Regions from separate parts of the Homo sapiens genome. Here regions 2 and 3 are each linked to region 1. The links are contacts of gene promoters, found by promoter capture Hi-C in blood cells and fetal thymus (Javierre and others, 2016). All regions are on one chromosome and are shown on one strand. Each heading gives the region's core, a stretch centred on a gene start or on the middle of the fragment in contact. The rest is flanking DNA. Distances are from core to core; before and after follow the strand shown.

What was found. The method cuts DNA at HindIII sites, captures the fragments that hold promoters and counts their contacts. A CHiCAGO score of 5 or more calls a contact.
Region 2: a contact is called between the fragment with the promoter of APLP1 here and the fragment with the promoter of IGFLR1 in region 1, in 4 of 17 cell types (M1 macrophages, M0 macrophages, M2 macrophages and 1 more). The highest score is 6.6, in M1 macrophages.
Region 3: a contact is called between the fragment with the promoter of NPHS1 here and the fragment with the promoter of IGFLR1 in region 1, in 9 of 17 cell types (M1 macrophages, total B cells, naive CD8 T cells and 6 more). The highest score is 8.7, in M1 macrophages.

Annotation. Positions count from the first base shown.
Region 1 is chr19:35,740,295-35,743,928 of GRCh38, forward strand. It overlaps IGFLR1 (IGF like family receptor 1), which reads right to left and starts at 2,158. Exons shown (of 5, transcript NM_024660.4): 1 at 2,102-2,158; 2 at 730-929; 3 at 86-270. The coding sequence starts at 886. It overlaps U2AF1L4 (U2 small nuclear RNA auxiliary factor 1 like 4), which reads right to left. Exons shown (of 6, transcript NM_001040425.3): 5 at 3,515-3,610; 6 at 2,233-2,509. The coding sequence ends at 2,425. RefSeq lists enhancers at 1-106, 454-563, 1,911-2,340 and a silencer at 244-373. The HindIII fragment of the contact is 10,043 bases long and covers 1-3,634 here.
Region 2 is chr19:35,866,275-35,869,908 of GRCh38, forward strand. APLP1 (amyloid beta precursor like protein 1) reads left to right here and starts at 2,300. Exons shown (of 17, transcript NM_001024807.3): 1 at 2,300-2,509; 2 at 3,393-3,536. The coding sequence starts at 2,363. LOC107985317 (a long non-coding RNA gene) reads right to left here and starts at 3,083. Exons shown (of 4, transcript XR_001753932.2): 1 at 2,818-3,083; 2 at 1,601-1,856; 3 at 213-319. KIRREL2 (kirre like nephrin family adhesion molecule 2) reads left to right here. Exons shown (of 15, transcript NM_199180.4): 15 at 1-862. The coding sequence ends at 218. RefSeq lists silencers at 2,121-2,380, 2,471-2,540. The HindIII fragment of the contact is 13,044 bases long and covers 1-3,634 here.
Region 3 is chr19:35,851,254-35,854,887 of GRCh38, forward strand. NPHS1 (NPHS1 adhesion molecule, nephrin) reads right to left here and starts at 1,251. Exons shown (of 29, transcript NM_004646.4): 1 at 527-1,251; 2 at 204-419; 3 at 9-131. The coding sequence starts at 584. It also overlaps a transcript of KIRREL2 not described here. RefSeq lists enhancers at 1-537, 538-1,179. The HindIII fragment of the contact is 3,857 bases long and covers 1-3,634 here.

The DNA.
Region 1 (3,634 bases), core at 908-3,407:
CCCTTACGTGGGGCTACGCCGGCTCCCTACATCTAGGCCCCCCACCTCCAGCACGCCCTTGCCCTGCCGGGAGTCCCATCTGCACCTCTCTGCAGCGCCACGGGGTTCTGCCCCCGCCCGCGGCGGGAGTAGGGGTCACGGCTCCGCCGCCGCAGGGGCTACATAGCTCCGCGCCGTCGGGGTTGCACTGCCCAGAAGAACACTTTCGGAACGGGGGCGTTACGAAATCGCCGTGGTCATTGAGTCCGCAGTTTTCCCGGAACTCATAGTCTAGCGGGAAAGCTGCGCTCCAGTGCGGCCGCCTAGCCCGCCCCTGCGCGGGCAACGCCCTCTCCCTTCGCCCTATCCCAGCGTGCCCCGCCCCTCCAGGACGCTTCCAGCCTATTAGCGTGCGCCCCGGTCTTGTCACTTTTCTCCGGGCTCGCCTTTTCACCCCCCTCCAGCCTGCTCCGCACGAAGCTCCGCCCACTCCCGGCTTCTCTACATAAAGCCCACCCTTTCCACGCGGCCCCTATCCCGCCTCTCCAGCCATATCCATTCGCTGTTGCCCTACGGTAGCCCGCACTATCTGCACAGGCTCTGCCTGCCATCCCTGTCTGATCTGCATAAGGCCCACCGCTTAGACCCCTAAGCAAGCCTCTCTGGCCCGTAGCCCACAGACCTCGCCCCTTCCCCGCTCCCTATCACCTGCAAGCTCCGCCCAAGCAAGGCTCGGTCTCGGATTCTCACCCGGGCAGGGGGGCGGCCCGAAGCGTTGCAGGCAGCTGCTGCAGCACTTGTTGTCTGGGTTCCAGTATTCAAGGCGGCCGCAGTACTGGGAGGCTTCCGGCGGTGGCGCCAGGGCCAGAAGCAACAAGGCCGTCAGGAGGCATCGTCCAGGCCCCATCTGGGGGGCCGTGATAGCGGGACTTCCAAACACAGCGCCTCTGCTACACTTTCCGGGGAAATCGGGCAGAAGAAAGGACGCGGTGATGTGGGGGAACAGAATTCTCACGCCTCTTCGGAAGCCGGGAATCTACCCCCGAGCCCTCATCCCCCAACTGAGCCGGTTATCAGAGAAGCCCACAAGGCCACTAGGGGACTAACAGGGCTGCGGATCTAGATTGCAAGAATGCATATCCCACCTCTGCCGTGTCCTCACCCACCCACCCTCCCTTTTCCATCCCTAAAATAAGACAATGATAGCACCTGTCTCATAGGGTTATTGTGGAGAATTAGAACCGTCATTAGAAGTAAAGCAGGGGCTGGGTGTGGTGGCTCATGCCTGTAATCCCAACACTTTGGGAGGCCAAGACAGGAGGATCACTTGAGCCCAGGAGTTCGAGAGATCAGCCTGGACAACAAAATGAAACCCCATCTTTACAAAAAAAAAAAAAAAAAAAAAAAACAGCAAAGCACTTTGCCAAGTGCAGTGGCTCACGTCTGTAGTCCCTGCTACTAGGGAGGCCAAGGTAGGAGGATTGCTTGAGCCATGAATTACAGACCAGCCTGGGCAACACAGCAAGACCTCATCTCTAAAAACAAAAAAAACTGGCCGCCGGGCGCAGTGGCTCATGCCTGTAATCCCAACACTTTGGGAGGCCCAGGTGGGTGGATCACCTGAGGTCAGTAGTTCAAAACCAGCCTGGCCTACATGGTGAAACCCTGTCTCTATTAAAAATACAAAATTAGCCGGGCGTGGTAGCGCATGCCTGTAAATCCCAGCTACTTGGGAGGCTGAGGCAGAATTGCTTGAACCTGGGAAGTGGAGGCTGCAGTGAGCTGAGATCGTGCCATTGCACTCCAGCCTGGGCAACAGGAATGAAACTCCTTAAAAAAAACAAAAACAAACTAAAGTGCTGAAAACAGCACCTCACATACAGTAAACTCAGTGTTTAAGTGTAAGGCATTACTAACTCCCATCACAATTCGGCAGGCACGGAGGAGTCAGCCCCATACTGGCTGGAGACCACCTCCCAGCACCTCACCTCACCTTTGAATCCTAATCTCCTTGGGGCTAGGGCTCCTCCCACCTGCCACAACCAGGTCTCTCCCCCTTGAATAAGCCTCAGATGGAGGTGCTAAGGTTTTCAGCACAAAGGTGTCCCCACCCTACCAGTACCGTTAGGGTCCTGGGTCCCAAGCTGGCCGTGCCAAGTTCCTCAGCTGAAGTTGTGGCCAGGACCCAGTCTTGTTTCCCCTTTTCGTCACATGTGTGGGTGGAGGGAAATGCCAAACCACAGCAAAAGCAAGTTGATGCCGAAGTGAAACACGCAGCTTTATTAAGACAGGGGCGGTAGAAGAAGGTCTCCATGCTGAACAGATTACATTATGGAGCCCGGGAGCCTGGGAAGGATGGGGCAGGAGAGTGAAGGGGGCTTTGAGGAGAGGTCCTGCCAGGAACATCTGTCCCTGTTGGGGGTGAAGGGTAAGGGGGCCAGGGCCTCAGAAGCGGCCATGCCAGTGATCAGGGGAACACCGATGGTTCCTCTCTCGGGGATGGTGGCCAGTATGGAACCTCGGGGGTGACCTGGGAATAGGAGCGTTGAGAGTTCTGTTAGAACCCTGAGGAGTGGTGCAGAGATCCTGCAGGCCTGCCTCTCTGCTCTGGGATGAGGCAGGAGGGTGCTGAAATAACTAGAGTTCTAAGACACGACCTCAGTGGCCAGTATCAGGGGAACTCAGTGGCCAGTATCAGGGGTGGCAATCCAGGCTGGTCGTGGATTAGGGGTTCAGGCTGGTTTGGGGATTGGGACTTAGGTACTGGTCTCCAGATGGAGCTCAGAACTACTCTTAGGGTATAAGAGTCTTGGGAATGACCGGGCGCAGTGGTTCACGCCTGTAATCCCCACACTTTGGGAGGCCGAGATGGGTGGATTACCTGAGGTCCGGAGTTCGAGACCAGGCTGGCCAACGTGGTGAAACCCCATCTCTACTAAAAATACAAAAATTAGCCAGGCATGGTGGCAGGTGCCTATAATCCCAGCTACTTGGGAGGCTGAGAAAGGAGAATTGCTTGAACCTGGGAGGCAGAGGTTGCACTGAGCCAAGACTGCGCCTTTGCACTCCAGCCTGCGGAAGAAGAGCAAAACTCCGTCTCAAAAAAAAAAAAAAAAAAAAAAAAAAAAAACAGTCAGCCGGGAGTGGTGGCTCACGCCTGTAATCCCAGCACTTTGGGAGGGTGAGGCAGGTGGATCACGAGGTTAGGAGTTCAGACCAGCCTGGCCAAGATGGTGAAACCCCATCTCTACTAAAAACACAAAAATTAGCCGGGCATGGTGGCAGGTGCCTGTAATCCCAGCTATTTGGGAGGCTGAGGCAGAGAATTGCTTGAACCCGGGAGGCGGAAGTTGCCATGAACCAAGATGGTGCCAATGCACTCCAGCCTGGGCAACAGAGTGAGGCTCCATCTCAAAAAAAAAAAAAAAAAAAAAAGATTCTTGGGAACGTGGTTACTGGGGCTTAGGGTTAGGCTCATCTGAGGATATAGGGGCCTTAGGACATGAGGAGACATAGCAGGCTGGTCCTGAGGTACCTGCGCCTGGGTCCCCGCCCATAGAGCTGCCTCTGGAGGTTCTGGGAAATGGGCCGCAGATGCATGAAGTTGCAGAAGCCACCTCGGGTACATTCCCTGCATAGAGGGTAGAGAGATGGA
Region 2 (3,634 bases), core at 1,050-3,549, 130 kb after region 1:
CTACCTTCTATGACTTCAACCCACACCTGGGCATGGTCCCCCCCTGCAGACTTTACAGAGCCAGGGCAGGCTATCTCACCACACCCCACCCTCGAGCTTTCACCAGCTACATCAAACCCACATCCTTTGGGCCCCCAGATCTGGCCCCCGGGACTCCCCCCTTCCCATATGCTGCCTTCCCCACACCTAGCCACCCGCGTCTCCAGACTCACGTGTGACATCTTTCCAATGGAAGAGTCCTGGGATCTCCAACTTGCCATAATGGATTGTTCTGATTTCTGAGGAGCCAGGACAAGTTGGCGACCTTACTCCTCCAAAACTGAACACAAGGGGAGGGAAAGATCATTACATTTGTCAGGAGCATTTGTATACAGTCAGCTCAGCCAAAGGAGATGCCCCAAGTGGGAGCAACATGGCCACCCAATATGCCCACCTATTCCCCGGTGTAAAAGAGATTCAAGATGGCAGGTAGGCCCTTTGAGGAGAGATGGGGACAGGGCAGTGGGTGTTGGGAGTTTGGGGCCGGGATGGAAGTTGTTTCTAGCCACTGAAAGAAGATATTTCAAGATGACCATCTGCATTGAGAGGAAAGGTAGCATAGGATAGATGAAGATGAAGAGCATACCAGGCCCCACCCTGGCTCTCCCTGAGGGGAACTTTGCTCGGCCAATGGAAATGCAGCCAAGATGGCCATATACTCCCTAGGAACCCAAGATGGCCACCATCTTGATTTTACTTTCCTTAAAGACTCAGAAAGACTTGGACCCAAGGAGTGGGGATACAGTGAGAATTACCACTGTTGGGGCAAAATATTGGGATAAAAATATTTATGTTTAATAATAAAAAAAAGTCAAAGAGGCAAGTGTGTCTTAGGGAGTCTACTGGCATTATCACTCTCCACCAAGGAAGGGGTCCCTTAGACCTGTCCCAAGGTCCCTCCTCTACCCTAGCCTATGAGGTGGCTGTAGGAGTAAAACTGTGAGCCACCTCTCAGCCTCTTGCTACCTGCAAAGCACTCTAGGCTCTTTTTTTTTTTTTCTTGAGACAAGATCTGGCTCTATGGCCCACATTGGAGTGCAGTGGCATGATCTCAGCCCACTGCTACCTCTGCATCCTGGGCTCAAGCCATCCTTCCACCTCAGCCTCCCAAGTAGCTGGGACTACAGGTGCATGCCACCACACCCAGCTAATTTTTGTATTTGTTTGTAGACAGGGTTTCACCATGTTGGCCAGGCTGGTCTCAAACTCCTGACCTCAAGTGATCCGCCCACCTAGGCCTCCCAATGTGCTGGGATTACAGGCATGAGCCACTGTGCCCAGCCATGGGCTCTTTTAATATACATCTTCACACACACACACACACACACACACACGCACACACACACATGAGTTGCAAACAGAAAAGACACACACATAGGCATGTATGCACAGACACACGCATAGATGTCCACACAGTTGCACACAAGTGACAGGGCTGCCCCAGGGGTCCTGGGGAAGACTGAATTCTAACTCTCATTAGAGGAGACAAACAAGTGAGCCCTGAAGTGGAGCAGGGAAGGGGAGACTATGGGTAGGAAAATGGCAATCCCCTGGTCCTTACAGCAAGCGTGGAGATCCAGACCCTAATCCTGAGGTGCTGCATCCACAGTGGGCATGGTGCTGGTGCCTGCTTGGATGATCCTTAAAGAAAGGTCCTGGGGGCTTTGGTTCATGGATCCTTGAGCTAGGAGTTAAAGGTCCAGGCCCCTGGGACCCTTGGGAAGCAGAGCAAGAAGAGTGAACTCCTGGGTCTGAAGGAGAATGGGCTGGGGGCTTGGTCTCTGGTCCTGAGAGAGAAGGTGCCCAGACTTCTGGATCTGAAAGAGGAAGGGACTAGGTCTCAACTGCTGCCTTCTTGACTGGGGACATTTTGGAGGCCTGTATTCCTGAGCCCTCAACAGAGGAATGTACTAGGGGATGGGGGTCTCTGATGCTTGCATCCTTGGAAAAGGACAAAACTGTGAGTGTCTGGGTCTAAAGAGGGTGAGAGTCCTGCGGGAGGACTCAAAATCCACAACGGGCGGAGCCCATAGCCGGACTCCTGGCTGGGCCCTTCATGGGGCGGGACGCCTGGAATCTCGAGGGGCGGGGGCCTGGCGCAGGCTCCCGCCCGGGGTTCCCGAGCTGCTCCACTCTGCGCGAAGCCGCCACGCTATTGTCCTGACCAGGAAGGCGGGGCCGGCGCGGGGCGGGGCTGGCGGCGCCGGCGCAGCCCGGGGGCGGCGGGAGGAGGAGGTGGCGGCGGTGGCGCTGGGAGCTCCTGTCACCGCTGGGGCCGGGCCGGGCGGGAGTGCAGGGGACGTGAGGGCGCAAGGGCCGGGACATGGGGCCCGCCAGCCCCGCTGCTCGCGGTCTAAGTCGCCGCCCGGGCCAGCCGCCGCTGCCGCTGCTGCTGCCACTATTGCTGCTGCTTCTGCGCGCGCAGCCCGCCATCGGGAGCCTGGCCGGTGGGAGCCCCGGCGCGGCCGAGGTGAGGCCGGGCCGGGTCCTGGGGGATGGGGGAAGGGGCGGGACCGGGTCTCTGGACGCCGGCGCGGACATGTCCAGGGCAGAAAGCGCGGTCTTTCCAGCCAGGTGGTCAGCCCCCAGGCGCCCCCAATCACATTTATGAACCCAGGGTTCCAGGCCCCAGCTCCCCCATCATGCGACGTCCCAGCCCCCTCCCATCTCGAGCATAGGAACTGGTCTATTCAGAGCCCCTGGTCCCAGAAGTCCAGCCCCCTCTCCAGACCCAGGTGACTCGGCCCCAACCCCCTCCCGCCTGGACATAGGACCCACCAAGCAGCGAGGCATTTAGATCCAATAATCCAGACCCCTTGTATTCTCTGGACCCATATGGAGGCCCTTGCAGCCTCCCAGGACCCAGGAGTCCAGTCCTTCAGTCACCACCCACCCCAACCAGATGTAGCTCTCCAGTCCTCAAGGACCTGGTGTCCAGGACTGTAGGCCCCTGAAGCCAGGCCTTGTCAGCTTTGCATCCTGCAACGGGAGCCTGAGCAAGGGATGGAGGGAGGAGGGGCCAGAACTCCTGGGTTCTGGCCTCCTCCTCCGCGATTCAGGTTTAACCCCTTCGGGCTCCAGAGCGGCTGCGCTGGGGTGGGGGCGGAGTCTGTCTCCGCGGCAACAAGGCAGAAAGAATCCCGGGGGACCCAGGTCGCCATAGCAACGGGAGCGCTGGGGCGCCCCCGCCCTACGGGAGCTGTTTCCCAGGGAACGGTGCCTCCATGGAGGCGGTGTGCGGTGCTTGGGGGAGGGGGCTGGTGCTGGGGGTCTCGGTCCTAGGGAGCAAAGAACCAGGGGACCCTCATGCCAACGCCCCCCGAGCCCTCACTGTCCTTTCCACTTCCATCCAGGCCCCGGGGTCGGCCCAGGTGGCTGGACTATGCGGGCGCCTAACCCTTCACCGGGACCTGCGCACCGGCCGCTGGGAACCAGACCCACAGCGCTCTCGACGCTGTCTCCGGGACCCGCAGCGCGTGCTGGAGTACTGCAGACAGGTGGGCGGGGCCGAACGGGAGAGGCGGGGCCGCCCATAGAAAGCTAGACTTGAAAAAGGCGTGGTCCAGGGTGCTGCGCGATCTAAGGCGTGGAGGCT
Region 3 (3,634 bases), core at 1-2,500, 110 kb after region 1:
ACCCATACCCAGGATGGAGAGGATCACTCTGGGAGACACGAGCTCGGGCCCCATCTCAGAGCGGCCGACCTGGCACTCATACTCCGCGTCATCGCTGAGGTCACAGGCCTCGATGTGCAGGTGGAATTCACCTGCAGGGGGAGCCGGAAGTCAGGGCCGCAGCTTCCGCTGGTGGCTGAGGGTCTCAGGCTCTGATCCCTTACCTCTAGCAGGGTCCCCTTCCAGGCGGTACCTCGGGAAGCCTGGGATCCTGGGGTCGGGGCCCAGGAGCAGCCCATCTTTGGCCCATTGCACCGCACTGCCAGGGGTGCTGACCCCACAACGCAGCTCCACTGAGGCCCCCTCCACCACCGTCAGGTTTTCAGGCAGGGCCCAGAAGCCCCGGGGAACGGAGGCAGGAATCGCCAACTGCGCCAGGCCTGAGGACACAGCGCGGTGCAAGGAAAGGGCAGAGGGTTTGTCTAGGGAAGGTAAGTGGGAAATGGGGGCCACTTGGCGCTGGGTACAAGGCTGGGATCCCACTCACCTTCAGTCAGCAGCCCCAGGAGCAGGAGAGAAGCCCTGAGCGTCGTCCCCAGGGCCATCACAGGTCCCCCTACTGTGACCCCCACAGCGCCCGCTGCCAGCCACCTGCGTCTGTCTGGCTTTCTCTGGGTCCCTCTCTGTGTGTCTCTGCCACCTGCTTTTCTTTTTTATCTCTTTCCGTTACTCTCCTCCCTTTCTCGTTTTCCTCTTCCCCTCTTCCCTGTGAGTATCTCTCTCTGTCTTGCTCTCAGTCTCAATCTCTGAGTCTCTTTCTCTGTCTCTTTAAAAAAACTTTTTTTTCTTTTTTCTTTTTTTTTTCTTTTTTTTTTTTTTAGAGACGGGGTCTCACTATGTTGGCCAGGTTGATCTCAGACTCTTTCCTTCAAGCCATCCTCCCACCTTGGCCTCCCCAAGTGTTGGGATTACAGGCGTGAGCCACTGCGCCCAGTCTCTTTATCTTTCCATCTTTCTCTCCTTGTCTAAGCCGTTCTCTCTCCTTTTGTCTCTGTCTCTTCCTCTCTCTCTGTCTCTCTCTCTCTCTCTCTCTCAATCTCTATCTTCTCTCCTGCCACCCCTCACTCCTGCTCCTTGTCTCACTACTCACAGCCTTTCAAGAAGGACCTGCAGCCCAGAGTCCAGCAGGCCAGGAGCCTAGGAGAGCGATGAGGCTGATGCAGGCACTGGCAGAGTCAGCCCTGCTCTCTGACCCAGCTTGAGCTCATTCTCACAGTGCAACCTCCCCCAGGTACCTTCCAGAGCCCCCAGCTCTGGCCTCTGCCCAGCAGGCTCCTCCCAGCTGGCCCAGCTGGAGCATAAAATCCCCTGTCAGCACATGCCAGGCGCGTTCCTCGGTGCCTCCCCAGCCTCCGTGACCCCAGGGCCTGGCTTAGGCTGGGAAGATGGGAGAAGTCAGATCAAGGTGGTCTCCCAGCTCAGCAGGGGAGCAGCCAGCTGGGCCCCCAGCTCTTCCTTGCCCTGATACATGACCTTGGCAAGTCTCTTTCTTTCTTTCTTTCTTTTCTTGAGATAGTCTTGCTCTGTTGCTCAGGCTGGAGTGCAGTGGCATCTCGGCTCACTGCAACTTCCACCTCCCATGGCTTGAACCTCCCAGGTTCAAGTAATTCTCCCACCTCTGTCTCCCAAGTAGCTGGTGCTACAGGTATATAGCACCATGCCTGGCTAATTTTTGTATTTTTACTAGAGACGGGGTTTCATCATGTTGGCCACGCTGGTCTCGAACTCCTGACCTCAGGTGATCCATCTGCCTCAGCCTCCCAAAATGCTGGGATTACAGACATGAGCCACCGCACCTGGCCTCCCTTCCTTTTTTAGTAGACATCAGTGCCTAAATGATGTCAGGGATCTCTGCTGGGGAGGATGCAAGAGTGAGTGTGACAGGCTGGGAGAGTGTGGGAGAGAGGGAAGATATGCATGTGTGTACGTGGGTGTGAGAGTGGGGAAGGTTAGAGTGAACTGCGATCTGTAATAAGCATGTGGAGAGCGTGTGTGTGACAGTGTCTTACGTGGGAGTGCACAGGGTGTGGGCGGGAGTAAAAGGCAGAGTCCAATTCCACCGGCCCCCAGTGTGGGTGCAGTGTGAGCCCAAAGTGGGCGCCCTTTGGCAAGGACTGCATGAGCTTTCTTCTCCCTCTTTTTCTTGCCCTCTCTCCCATCTCTTCTTTCCTTCTCCATGTCTCTCTCTCTCCCTCCCTCTATCTATCTTGATTTATCTTTCTTTCTTTTGAGATGGAATCTTGCTCTGTTGCCCAGGCTGGAGGGCAGTGGCATGATCTTGGTTCATTGCAGCCTCAACTTCCTGGGCTCAGGTGATCCTCCTGCCTCAGCCTCCTGAATAGCTGGGACTACAGGTGCACACCACCACTCCAGCTAATTTTTTAAAATTTGTTTGTAGAGACAGGGTCTTTCTCTATTGCCCAGGCTGGAGTGCAGTGGTGTGATCATGGCTCATTGAAGCCTCAAACCTCCTAGGCTCAAGTGTTCTTTCTGCCTCAGCCTCCTGAGTAGCTGGGACTACAGGCCCGCATCACCACTCTGGCTATTTTTTTTTTTTTTTTTTTTTTTTTGAGAGGGAGTCTTGCTCTGTCACCCAGGCTGGAGTGCAATGGTGCGATGTTGGCTCACTGTAACCTCCGCCTCCCAGGTCCAAGCGATTCTCCTGCCTCAGCCTCCTGAGTAGCTGGGAATACAGGCATTGACCACCACACCCAGCTAATTTTTGTATTTTTAGTAGAGACGGGGTTTCGCCATGTTGGCCAGGCAGGTCTCGAACTCCTGACCTCAGGTAACCCACCTGCCTTGGCCCCCCAAAGTGCTGGGATTACAGGTGGGAGCCGCTGCACCCCGCCACTTGGCTAATTTTTTTTAAATGTTTTTGCAGAGACAGAGTCTTGCTATATTGCCCAGGCTTGTCTGGAACTCCTGGGCTCAAGCAATCCTCCCATCTCGGCCTCCCAAAGTACTAGGATTACAGGCATGAGCCACCGCACCTGGCCCTTGATTTATCTTTCTTTTTTTTCTTTTTTCTCTTTTTTCTTTTTTTGAGATGGAGTTTCACTCTTGTTGCCCAGACTGGAGTGTAATAGTGTGATCTCGGCTCACTGCAACCTCTGCCTCCCGGGTTCAGGCGATTCTCCTGCCTCAGCCTCCCTAGTAGCTGGGATTACAGGCATGCGCCACCACGCCTGGCTAATTTTTTGTATTTTTAGTAAAGACGGGGTTTCTCCATGTTGATCAGGCTGGTCTCGAACTCCTGACCTCAGGTGATCAGCCTGACTCGGCCTCCCAAAGTGCTGGGATTGCAGGCGTGAGTCATTGTGCCCAGCTGATTTATCTTTCTATCTTTCTCCATCTGTTTGAGACTCTCTCGCTCTCTATATTAAGTTGTTAAATCTCAGTCAATCTTTATTTCACTGTGTCTCTCCATCTCTATATGTCTCTGTTATTCTGTTTCTCTGTCTCTGTTCTCACCTCTGTCGCTCCCCTCACCCCACAGTCTGTCTCACACACACCAGGAGCTCCATAAATATTTGTTCTCAGCCACACTCTGACCACGCCTCTTTCTCTTATGTGTCTCTCCATCTCCGAGTGG